3 separate regions of the Homo sapiens genome follow, and all the other regions are linked to region 3. The links are contacts of gene promoters, found by promoter capture Hi-C in human tissues and cell types (Jung and others, 2019). All regions are on one chromosome and are shown on one strand. Each heading gives the region's core, a stretch centred on a gene start or on the middle of the fragment in contact. The rest is flanking DNA. Distances are from core to core; before and after follow the strand shown.

What was found. Contacts are between HindIII fragments. The study calls those that stand out against the background at their distance.
Region 1: a contact is called between the fragment with the promoter of CCDC57 here and the fragment with the promoter of WDR45B in region 3, in 1 of the 25 tissues and cell types used here (mesenchymal stem cells).
Region 2: a contact is called between a fragment that was not itself captured here and the fragment with the promoter of WDR45B in region 3, in 1 of the 25 tissues and cell types used here (dorsolateral prefrontal cortex).

What each region holds. Positions count from the first base shown.
Region 1 is chr17:82,211,156-82,214,679 of GRCh38, forward strand. It overlaps CCDC57 (coiled-coil domain containing 57), which reads right to left and starts at 1,687. Exons shown (of 19, transcript NM_001394669.1): 1 at 1,630-1,687. RefSeq lists a silencer at 1,228-2,147 and an enhancer at 2,098-3,040. The HindIII fragment of the contact is 18,649 bases long and covers 1-3,524 here.
Region 2 is chr17:82,335,321-82,338,809 of GRCh38, forward strand. No RefSeq gene overlaps it. Among named protein-coding and RNA genes, the nearest start is that of SECTM1, 3.3 kb to the left of the region's middle. The HindIII fragment of the contact is 4,127 bases long and covers 98-3,489 here.
Region 3 is chr17:82,646,989-82,650,024 of GRCh38, forward strand. WDR45B (WD repeat domain 45B) reads right to left here and starts at 1,456. Exons shown (of 10, transcript NM_019613.4): 1 at 1,286-1,456. The coding sequence starts at 1,352. RefSeq lists silencers at 909-958, 969-1,018, 1,619-1,688 and enhancers at 1,101-1,600, 1,979-2,048. The HindIII fragment of the contact is 22,392 bases long and covers 1-3,036 here.

The DNA of each region.
Region 1 (3,524 bases), core at 437-2,936, 440 kb before region 3:
GACGTGACTAGCACCAACAGCCAGGGGCATCCTGTGTCTCGTAAGACGCTGGGAAGGGCACAATTTCCCTGTTGAGGTTTTCTTGCCAAAAATCAGTAATATGAAATCAATTATGACAAAACATCAGAGAAATGCCCCCGAACTGGGGGGCATTTTATAAAATAGTGGACTCATCATTGGATCCTGGACCACGGTAAAGTCATCCATGAGGTAGCTGCTAAGCAAGAATAAATACTGGAGACCAGATCATGGGATGATACCAACATGAACGCCAGCGTCTACATGTTGCTGAATGAACTGTGGTTCTCTAAGAGGTCAGCATTCTAGGGGCTCTGGGCAAAAGGCACACGGGAAATCTGTGCTCCTTTTGTATCCTTTTTCTAAGTTACAGATAATTTTTTTTTTTTTTGAGACCGAGTTTCGCTCTTGTCTCCCAGACTGGAGTGCAATGGCGCGATCTTGGCTCTCCGCAACCTGCGCCTCTCGGTGTGGTACCCTACTTTGTTTTAACCTGACTGACTCTCTCTTAGCTGAGAGGGCCGGACAGACACCATTTTGGTTTCTTCGCTTGCAGCCCCTTGTCCCCGTCCCTTAAGGACATAACTGGGGCAAGCTGACTCCAAGCACATCCAGGAATGCGCTTACTGATAAAATACTGATAAGAAACTGGAGCAAGCTGTACCAGCAGCTCCTGGGAACGCGCTCGGTTGATGGTACCCAAAGCCCCTGCGTTTATCACTTTGTGATAATTTAAGCCCCTGTACCTGGAACTGTTTATTTTCCTGTAACTGTTTCTGTAACCATTTATCTTTTAACTTTTTGCCTATTCTGCTTCTGTAAAAAAATCGCTTCAGCTAGCCTCCCCTCCTCTATTTAGACCAAGGTATCAAAAGAAATCTAGCCCCTTCTTCGGGGCCGAGGGAATTTGCAGCTCTAGCAGTCTGTCAGTCGCTGGCAATACAGGACTCCTGAGTAGTCTCAGAGTGTGGCGTTCTCTCTATAACTCCCTCAGTTACAACATCGGGTTCAAGCGATTCTCCTGCTTCAGCCTCCGGAGTAGCTGGGATTACAGGCGTGCACCACCACGCCCAATAATTTTTGTATTTTTAGTAGAGAGGGGGTTTCACCATGTTGGCCAGGCTGGTCTCGAACTCCGGGCCTCAAGCAATCTGCCCGCCTCTGCCTCCCAAAGTGCTGGATTACAGGCGCGAACCACCGCCTCCGGCCTTTTTTTTTCCTCTCTTTTTTTTTTTTTTTTTTTAAACTCACAGACACTGTAAGGCTGCCTGGGCGCGGAGCCGTCCTTGCCGGCGGCGGAACCCGGGGAATTCTCCCGGGGCTGCGGGGCCCTGGTCGGCAGCGCCCACCGCCCCAGGTCACCCACGGGAGACCGAGGGAACGCTCCCGCTCCACGCGGCCGCAACCCCCGCCCCGCCCCGCCGCAGCCTCCGCGAGGGGATCCCCGGTCCGGGCCTGGCCGAGCTCTGAGGGTCGACCTCGCGCTCCAGGTCCCCACCAAAGCGCTGCGTCCGACAGGACGGCAGCTGCTGGGGTTTTCTACAGGAAGAGTGGTCGGAGCGGCGCCCCCCACGCCTCCCACGCCTCCCACGCCGCCCGCCCGCACCTCACCCTAACGCCCGCCAGCAGCGCTGGCCAGGTCCCGCCGCGTTGCCACAGCGACCGGGTCAGTCGGCCGCGTCCGGCTGCGCTCGGTGCAGCGCTCGGGTCCCGCCGACAGGAAACGGGGTCCCTGGCGCTAGGTTCCGGCCCCTCCCGCCCCGCCGGGTTCCGCGCTGCGCCCGGGTCCGAGGGGCGCCCCGGCCGACCCGACCACCGCCGCAGATCGAAGGAGGGAGCCCGGCCTCCTCACCGGTCAGCGGGGCGACTCCGGACGGGGCTCCGGGCTATGGGGACGGCGGGTTCCGCCGCGCGAGGCGCCCCCACCTTCGCCGCCCCCGGCCCGGCCGAGGGTCCCCAGGCGCCCGCTTCCTGAGGCCGCCCGGCTCGCGGTCCCGAAGGGTTGACTTGAGCTTTTGCCCTGAGATGAAGGGAGCACGGGGCGGCCGAGGCTGCCCGTGGGGGTCTGTTCGGGCCGGGGGCGCCACGAAGTCCTGCCTAAGGGTCGGCTGCGGCCACCGGGGCACGAGTTCCCGGCGCTGCCCACGGGCTCGGAGACCGGCGGGGCCCAGGGGCCGTGCGCGCGGTCGCTCAGACCCTGATTAGGGAACTGGGGGAAGGAGGGGGGTCGGGACCCACCGAGGCCCGAAGTCGCCCCCACCATCCTGTGGGAACAACATCCTCAGGCACAGCCATTCCCAACCATTCACATCCTCAGAAAAAGGCACGTGTCCGTATCCATCTGCGGATGGATGAACAGAGCCCGGCCCCGGGACAGAGCAGCCTGGCTCACCCGAACCCTCAGCCCGCAATTCTGCGTGGGAGTGGAGGGGGTGTTTGGTGTCTGGGAATTCCCCTGGTGGGGCAATAAGCCAGGGGTCTGGTGTCATCCTCCACCCACATTGTTAACACTGGATCACTCCTCTCCGTGCCGTGCCTGCAGCCCAGGCACCCTGCAGCCTGTCCTCCCCGAACCATGCGTCCTGGTAGAGCTGTCTCCCTCGCCCACAGTCCTCAGTCCCGCCTCACACACCAAACCCTCTTCTGCCTCAGGTCCTTTGCGCCAGTTGCCTCTGCCTAGACTTGGTTCCCTGGATGCCCCCTCCCCACCCCATGTGTATGTCCGGCTCCCTGGACCCACCCCCCACACTGTGTGTCTAGCCCCCTGGACCCACCCCCCACTCTGTGTCTAGTCCCCTGGACTCCCCTCCCCACCCCCTGTGTCTAGCTCCCTGGACCCCCAACCTGGCCCATGTGTCCAACTCCCAGGACCCCCCCACCCTGTGTCCAGCTCCCTGGTTTCCCCCACCACCCCATGTGTTTGGCTCCCTGTCCTGCTGCCTTCTCAGTGCTTGTGCACCCCCAGCCTCATCAGACTTGTCACTCTATTAGAACAGGATGTAGGGCCTGGACTGTTGGCTCCCTGCTACCCCCACCCACAGGACAGTGCTGGGGTTGACCCGACTTTGGCTGCACATTTGACTGGCCCCTGGATCAGCTCTAGGACTAGATGTACCCAAAAGGATGCCCACATCCTTGCCTCAGCTCCTGCCTCTGCCCACCCAGAGAGCTGCCTTGCCCCCATGTCCACGATGCAGCCACCAGGCCTGGGTAAGCGTGGGTGTCCGAGACGGGCTGGGACACCCAGAAGAGGAGCCAGGACTTGCTTGGTCTGTATCCCGGCTCTGCATGCCTCAGTGTCCCTGCCTGTAAAGTGGGATCTATGGGAACCCATGTGTGGGCCGGGCACAGTGCTCACACCTGTGAACCCAGCACCTTGGGAGGCCAAAGGGAGGATCCTTTGAGCTCGGGAGACAGGGTCTCGCTCTGTTGCCCAGGCTGTAGTTCAGCGGCGTGATCTCAGCTCACTGCAGCCTCCGCCTCCCAGGTTCAAGCGATTCTCCTGC
Region 2 (3,489 bases), core at 911-3,410, 310 kb before region 3:
TTGCCTTTTCCTCCCCACCCTGGCTTCAATTCCCAGGTTGAGTTATGGACACTGCCTTACCTATCCTTCTAGAAGTTTTCCTGGTCCATACAAACAGCACAGCCATCCACTCACGTTTATTTCTTTCTTTTTTTTGAGACGGAGTCTCTGTTGCCCAGGCTGGAGTGCAGTGCTGCAGTCTCGATCACTGCAACCTCTGCCTCCCAGGTTCAACTGATTCTCCCACCTCAGCCTTCTGAGTAGTTGGGATTGCAGGCATGTATCACCACGCCCAGCTAATTTTTGTAGTTTTAGTAGAAATAGGATTTCATCATGTTGGCCAAGCTGGTCTCGAACTCCTGACCTCAGGTGGTCCGCCTGCCTTGGCCTCCCAAAGTGCTGGGGTTACAGGTGTGAGCCACCACATCTGGGCAGTATCTTTCCATTTCTTTTTTTTGTTTTGAGACGGAGTCTCGCTCTGTCGCCCAGGCTGGAGTGCAGTGGCGCAATCTCGGCTCACTGCAAGCTCTGCCTCCTGGGTTCACACCATTCTCCTGCCTCAGCCTCCTGAGTAGCTGGGACTACAGGCGCCCGCCACCACGCCCAGCTAATTTTTCTGTATTTTTAGTAGAGACGGGGTTTCACCGTGTTAGCCAGGATGGTCTGGATCTCCTGACCTTGTGATCCGCCCATCTTGGCCTCCCAAAGTGCTGGATTACAGGCGTGAGCCACTGCACCCGGCCGTATCTTTCCATTTCTATACAATGCTGGGATCAGGCATCTTAGAGCGGATGTGTGGATTCATTCACCCTCAGCCTGTCCTTGAATCACAGCCTCTGCTGTGCCAGGTGACATGTGGAGTTTCATTTCCTTTCTGTTCGAGGAATTTGTAGATTTCAGTTATGATTTTCTGTTTAACTCTCCAAATTATTCGGCAGCATATTCTTAAAATCCCCAAGGTCCTGGAGCATTTGCTTTTCTTTTTTTTGGAGACAGAGTCTTGCTCTGTCGCCCAGGCTGGAGTGCAGTGGTGCGATTTCGGCTCACTGCAACCTCCGCCTCCCTAGTTCAAGCGATTCTCCTACCTCAGCCTCCTGAGTAGCTGGAACTACAGGCACGTGCCGCCACGCCCAGCTTTTATTTATTTATTTATTTTATTTTTGGTAGAGACGGGTTTCACTATGTTAGCCAGGCTTTTTTTTTCTTGAACTCCTGAGCTCAGGCAATCCACCCGCCTCGGCCTCCCAAAGTGCTGGGATTACAGGCGTGAGCCACTGTGCTGGCGGCATTTGCTTTTCTTTGTAACTTGATTCTCTGGGTTCCCTTGCCTTTCATCCTTGCCCACCCACGTGACTGCAGCCTGTGGGGCTTCCTCCTAATGTCCCGAAGATAACTCGTCATCCTTGACCCCGCCGCCACCTCGGGTTCTAGTGGAGGATGTGGCCCGCCTGCCACCCCCACAGGCACCGGGTCCTCCAGGCCTCCTTGACCCACTTCCAACCCACCTGGGATGTCTGCGCGTTACCAGCCCAGATGCCTCTTGGAGCCTTCCACCTGCACCCCATCTCCTGTCCCAACAGGCTGGGCCCCTCCTCCCGGGCTGGCCAAGCCAGTACCTCCGCAGGGGCCGCAGGTGCAGCACCCTCTGTGGGGGAGCTAGGGGGATCGCTCCTCTGCTCTGCGCACTTTTATGAAAGGGCCTCTGACCCTCCCACTGTCCTGCTCACTCTGCCCGCGCACCCCCGGCCACCTGGGGGCCGCCCCCCAAAGCCCTCGGCCCGTGGACAGACTCGCAGCCTCCTGGGAGCCGAGCCAACCGGCCCCACAGATTTGTGCATGACTCAGTTGTACCCACTGCTCACTGGCTGGAAGGGTCTCACGGGTCCTTCCAACATGTAATATTCTCTGACTGTTGGGAGCAAGGGTCTCTGCAGGTGTCCCTCCTGTCAAGGTGTCAGTGGGGTAGGTTAGGTCTTTTATATACTTGTCAATTTTTTTTTTTTAAGACGGAGTCTCGCTCTGTCGCCCAGGCTGGAGTGCAGTGGCACGATCTCAGCTCACTGCAAGCTCCGCCTCTCGGGTTCACGCCATTCTCCTGCCTCAGCCTCCCCAGCAGCTGGGACTACAGGCGCCCGCCACCACGCCCAGCTAATTTTTTGTATTTTTATATACTTGTCAATTTGTATGGGCTTGAGCTATCAGTAATTAAGAGAGATAGGTTGGAATGGCCTCCTATGGTGGGGGCTTAGCAGCCTCTTCTTGTGGTTCTAGGAATTTTTAATCATATATTTGGAGGCTTTTTTTTTTTAAGAGATGGGGTCTCCTGTAGTTGACCAGGCTGGCTTGCAGTGGCTGTTCACTGGCAGGATCGTAGCTCAATGTACCCTGACCTTCTGGGCTCAAGCGATCCTCCAGCCTCAGCTTTCTGAGTAGCTGGCACCACAGGCAGGCACCACAGATAAAAAGTCTAAAATGTTTGCTTCAGTCTTTGTCGTTTTGTTGCTCTTGTTCTTGTCTTGTGCTAACCTAATTCTAATTTATCTATTTTATAATATTCGGAAGTTTTAAAATATGAGGCTAATTTTAAATTCTTACCCAGCATGTGTTTCTGCTTTTGGTGGAATCCACAACCCAGCTTGTTATTTTCCACCTGAAAAGGCTGTGCTCCTCGAACATCCAGTTATGTTGCCCTGAGCCCCTTCACTTGCCAATCTTCTTGGTATTTCTTTTGGGATTTCACTGTCTTTATAGCTTCACTTTATTTTAATTCTATTTATTTATTTATTTGGGGGGGATGGAGTCTCACTATGTTGCCCAGGCTGGAGTGCAATGGCACGATCTCACCTCACGCAACCTCCACCACCCGGGTTCAAGTAATTCTCCTGCCTCAATCTCCCTAGTAGCTGAGATTAGAGGCGTGCACCTGGCTAATTTTTGTATTTTTAGTAGAGACGGGGTTTTGCCGTGTTGGCCAGGCTGGTCTCTAACTCCTGACCTCATAATCTACCCACCTTGGCCTCCCAAAGTGCTGGGATTACAGGCGTGAGCCACCGTGCCCAGCTGTTATAGCTTAATTTTAGAAAGAATGGCATTTTTAGGGCTGGGTGCGATGGCTCATGCCTGTAATCCTAGCACTCTGGGAGGCTGAAGTGAGACAATCTCTTGAGGCCAGGAATTTGAGACCAGCTTGGACAACACAGTGAGACCCATCTTCACAAAAATAAAATAATGAGCCGGGCGTGGTGGCCAGTGCCTGTAGCCCCAGCTACTTGGGAGGCTGAGGTAGGAGGATCTCTTGAGCCTGGGAGGTCGAGGCTGCATTGAACCGAGATCAGGCCACTGCACTGTAGCCTGAGCAACAGAGCGAGACCCTGCCTCAAAGAGAGAGAGAGAGAGAGAGAAAGAGAGAAAGAGAAAATACTTTTAATAGTAATCCTTCCTAGCCAATGAGATAGGAATGCTGGGTGGTCATAGGAGAAATGAGAAATATCAAACAGTAATCTTGCAGAA
Region 3 (3,036 bases), core at 206-2,705:
TGGGAGGCCGAGGCGGGTGGATCACCTGAGGTCAGATTGAGACCAGCCTGGCCAACATGGTGAAACCCCGTCTCTACTAAAAATACAAAAAGTAGCCGGGCGTGGAGGCAGGCGCCTGTAATCCCAGCTACTCAGGAGCCTGAGGCAGGAGAATGGCGTGAACCCGGGAGGAGGAGGTTGCAGTGAGTCGAGATCGCACCAGGCTGGGCGACAGAATGAGACTCCGTCTCAAAATGAAATAAATAAATAAATAAAATTGTCTTCACATATACGGGATCATACAGCACCTGCCTGGATTCTCTTCAAAAACAAAACTTCCAAAGCCAACATGTAAAGCCTCGCAGAAGCCTGTCTCGGAATAACGGACATTCCTTTTCCTCCCCATCAGGACCTTTGGGAAGCGCGCCCTTCAAATGGGAGGTGAGGAGGCAACCATCCGAATCCAGGTCCCGCCCGCCTCCCGCGGGAATCCGACCGCGCCGCCCCGGCCGCATCCCCCGCAGCTCCGAAGCACCTGCGGGGAAGGAGGTCACCTTCCCTGGGCGCTTTAAATCATCCAGTGCTTACACCTGGATTCCGACATGGGAAAAGAAGTAAGATTTCCCTCAAAGGCCTCCCTTAAGTCCTTTGACTCCACCAAACACGAAGAAAAATCCCGGGGAGTGGGGGTGGGGAGAGTGACATTTTCCGATGGAAACCGACGGGAAAGGTGAGACCTGCACCCCACCCGCGCCACTCGCCACCAGAGGCGTCGGAGACGCCGGCTCCGCGGCTCCAGTAAACCCAAGCGAAGTCAGCTCAGCCACGGGCTACCTACTAAAGACCCTGAAAGGAACAGGGGGCAAAACGGGGTTCTGGGCAGGGCGTCAATCACGCTGTGGGGAAAATCCCGATAACCGTGGAGCCCGCAGGGAGCCAGGGAACCCGAGTGGGCGTGGCGCGCGGGGAGGGGCGTCCGCGCAGGAGGCTGGGGTTCTGTGCCGTCTCCCACCGACCTCGACCTCGGCCCGGGACGGCCGGCTGGGAGCGGTCACAACCCGGGGGGTGGGGGAGCGCGAAAGGCCAGGAAGGTGGGAGCCGGTTCGGGCCTGGTCCGGACCCCGGCTCGGGCTGGGAGCAGCGGCGAGGGCCGGGGCCGGGGGCTTCGGAGGGGAGCTCGGGCGGGGCCGGGGTCCCGGGTGGAAGGCCTGGCCGGAAAGGGGCGCCCAGGAGAGGCCTGAGAGCCGGGGACCCCGGGCTGCGGGAAGGCCCGGCCGGGCAAGGCGACAGGGCCGCGCCTCCTCACCGTGGTCCTGGTTGAAGCCGGCGTAGAGCAGCCCGTTGCCGTGAGGGTTACACGGCAGGAGGTTCATGGCGCCGCCGTGCTGGGTCGCCGCTCCTCAGCGCTGCATGCCTCTCGCTGGGGACGGCGGCCTGGTCCCTTCGGGCCGGCGCTGAGGCCGCCGCGGCCGGAAGTGCCGGACGTACGTGCGTGCGTGCTGGATGTGCGTGTGTGCTGGACGTGCGTGCGTGCGTGCTGGACGTCCGTGCGCGCGCCCGCGCCCCACCAGGGAGCCTATGGAGCGCCGAGCGCATCTAACCGAAGCGAGGCGAGACGAGGCGAGGCAGGGCGGGGAGGGGCGGGGCGGGGCGAGGCGAGGCGAGGCGAGGAAAGGCGGGGAGAGGCAGGGCGGGCGGGGCGGGATGAGGCGGGGAGAGGCAGGGCGGGCGGGGCGGGATGAGGCGGGGAGAGGCGGAGCGAGGCGGGGCGGGGAGGAGGGGGCGGGGCGGGGCGGGGCGAGGCGAGGAAAGGCGGGGAGAGGCAGGGCGGGCGGGGCGGGGCGGAGGCGGGGAGGGGCGGAGCGAGGCGGGGCGGGGAGGAGGGGGAGGGGCGGGGCGGGGAGGGGCCAGGCGGGAGCGCAGAGCACGTTCGCGGGAGGGTCTGGCCTTGTCATGCGCGGGGTCGCCGCGGGAAGGAGGATGGCCCGTTGAGGGCTTGGCACGGATACCTGACGGTCGGAGGAAGGGGGGAGAGCCGGTAAAGGAGGCTGACCCAAAACTGAGGCCCGGTGCATCATCCCTCATGAGAGGCAAGCCCAGAAGCGCCACAATACTAGGGTCCCCCTTCAGGAGACAGAGACCCCCAGGACACAGAGGGCCCCCAAGTCACTCAGCCCCCCCAGGACACGCAGCTCCTGCAGGACGCAGAGGGTGCCCAAGACACACAGTCCCCAGGACAGAGACCCCCCAGGACACAGAGGACCCCCAAGACACGCAGTCTCCAGGACACAGAGGTCCCCCCAGGACACACAGTGCCCCCAGGACACAGAGGTCCCCCAGGACACAGCACTCCCAGGACACACAGCCCCCCCGGGACACAGAAACCCCCCCAGGACACAGCCCCCCTAAGACACACAGCCTCCCCCAGTACACAGAGTCCTTTCCAGGGCACATATTCCCCCAGAAGACACAGAGGTCCCCCTAAGACACACAGCCCCCCCAGGACACACAGACCGCCAGGTCACAGAGACCTTCCCAGGACACAGGGACCTTCCCAGGACACATAGCCCCCCAGAGGACACACAGCCCCCCCACGACACAGCCCATAGAGGACACAACCCCTTAGTACCCCACCTAAAGGACAGGTGGCCCTCACACAGCACAGCCCCCGCAGGACTCCGGGACCCTCAGGTCACATTGCTCACAGGGCACAGTTCTCAACTCTTAGGGTCAGGCTGCTGGGGGCATCCTGGTCACAGAGCTTTGTCCCTGGGCTTGGCTCATGCAGTGGATGGCTGTGGAGGCCTGAGTGCTGGCCCTCGTGTCTCTTGCCCAGGGAGTCCTCTCCACTCCCCCTCCTCACTTTCCTGTCCCCTCCTAGGCTCTCCCTGTTCCCTGCAGCACACCTGATCTCCTAGGAGGTCCTGACACTGTCCCCTCGCAGCCACCTGCCTCCACCCCGTCTGTCATCCTCATCCCACCCTCGCCACTTGCCTGAGCTGGTGCTGACCTCTTAGCCATGGGGAGGAAGGAGCTGGACTGTAAGCTGAGATCACT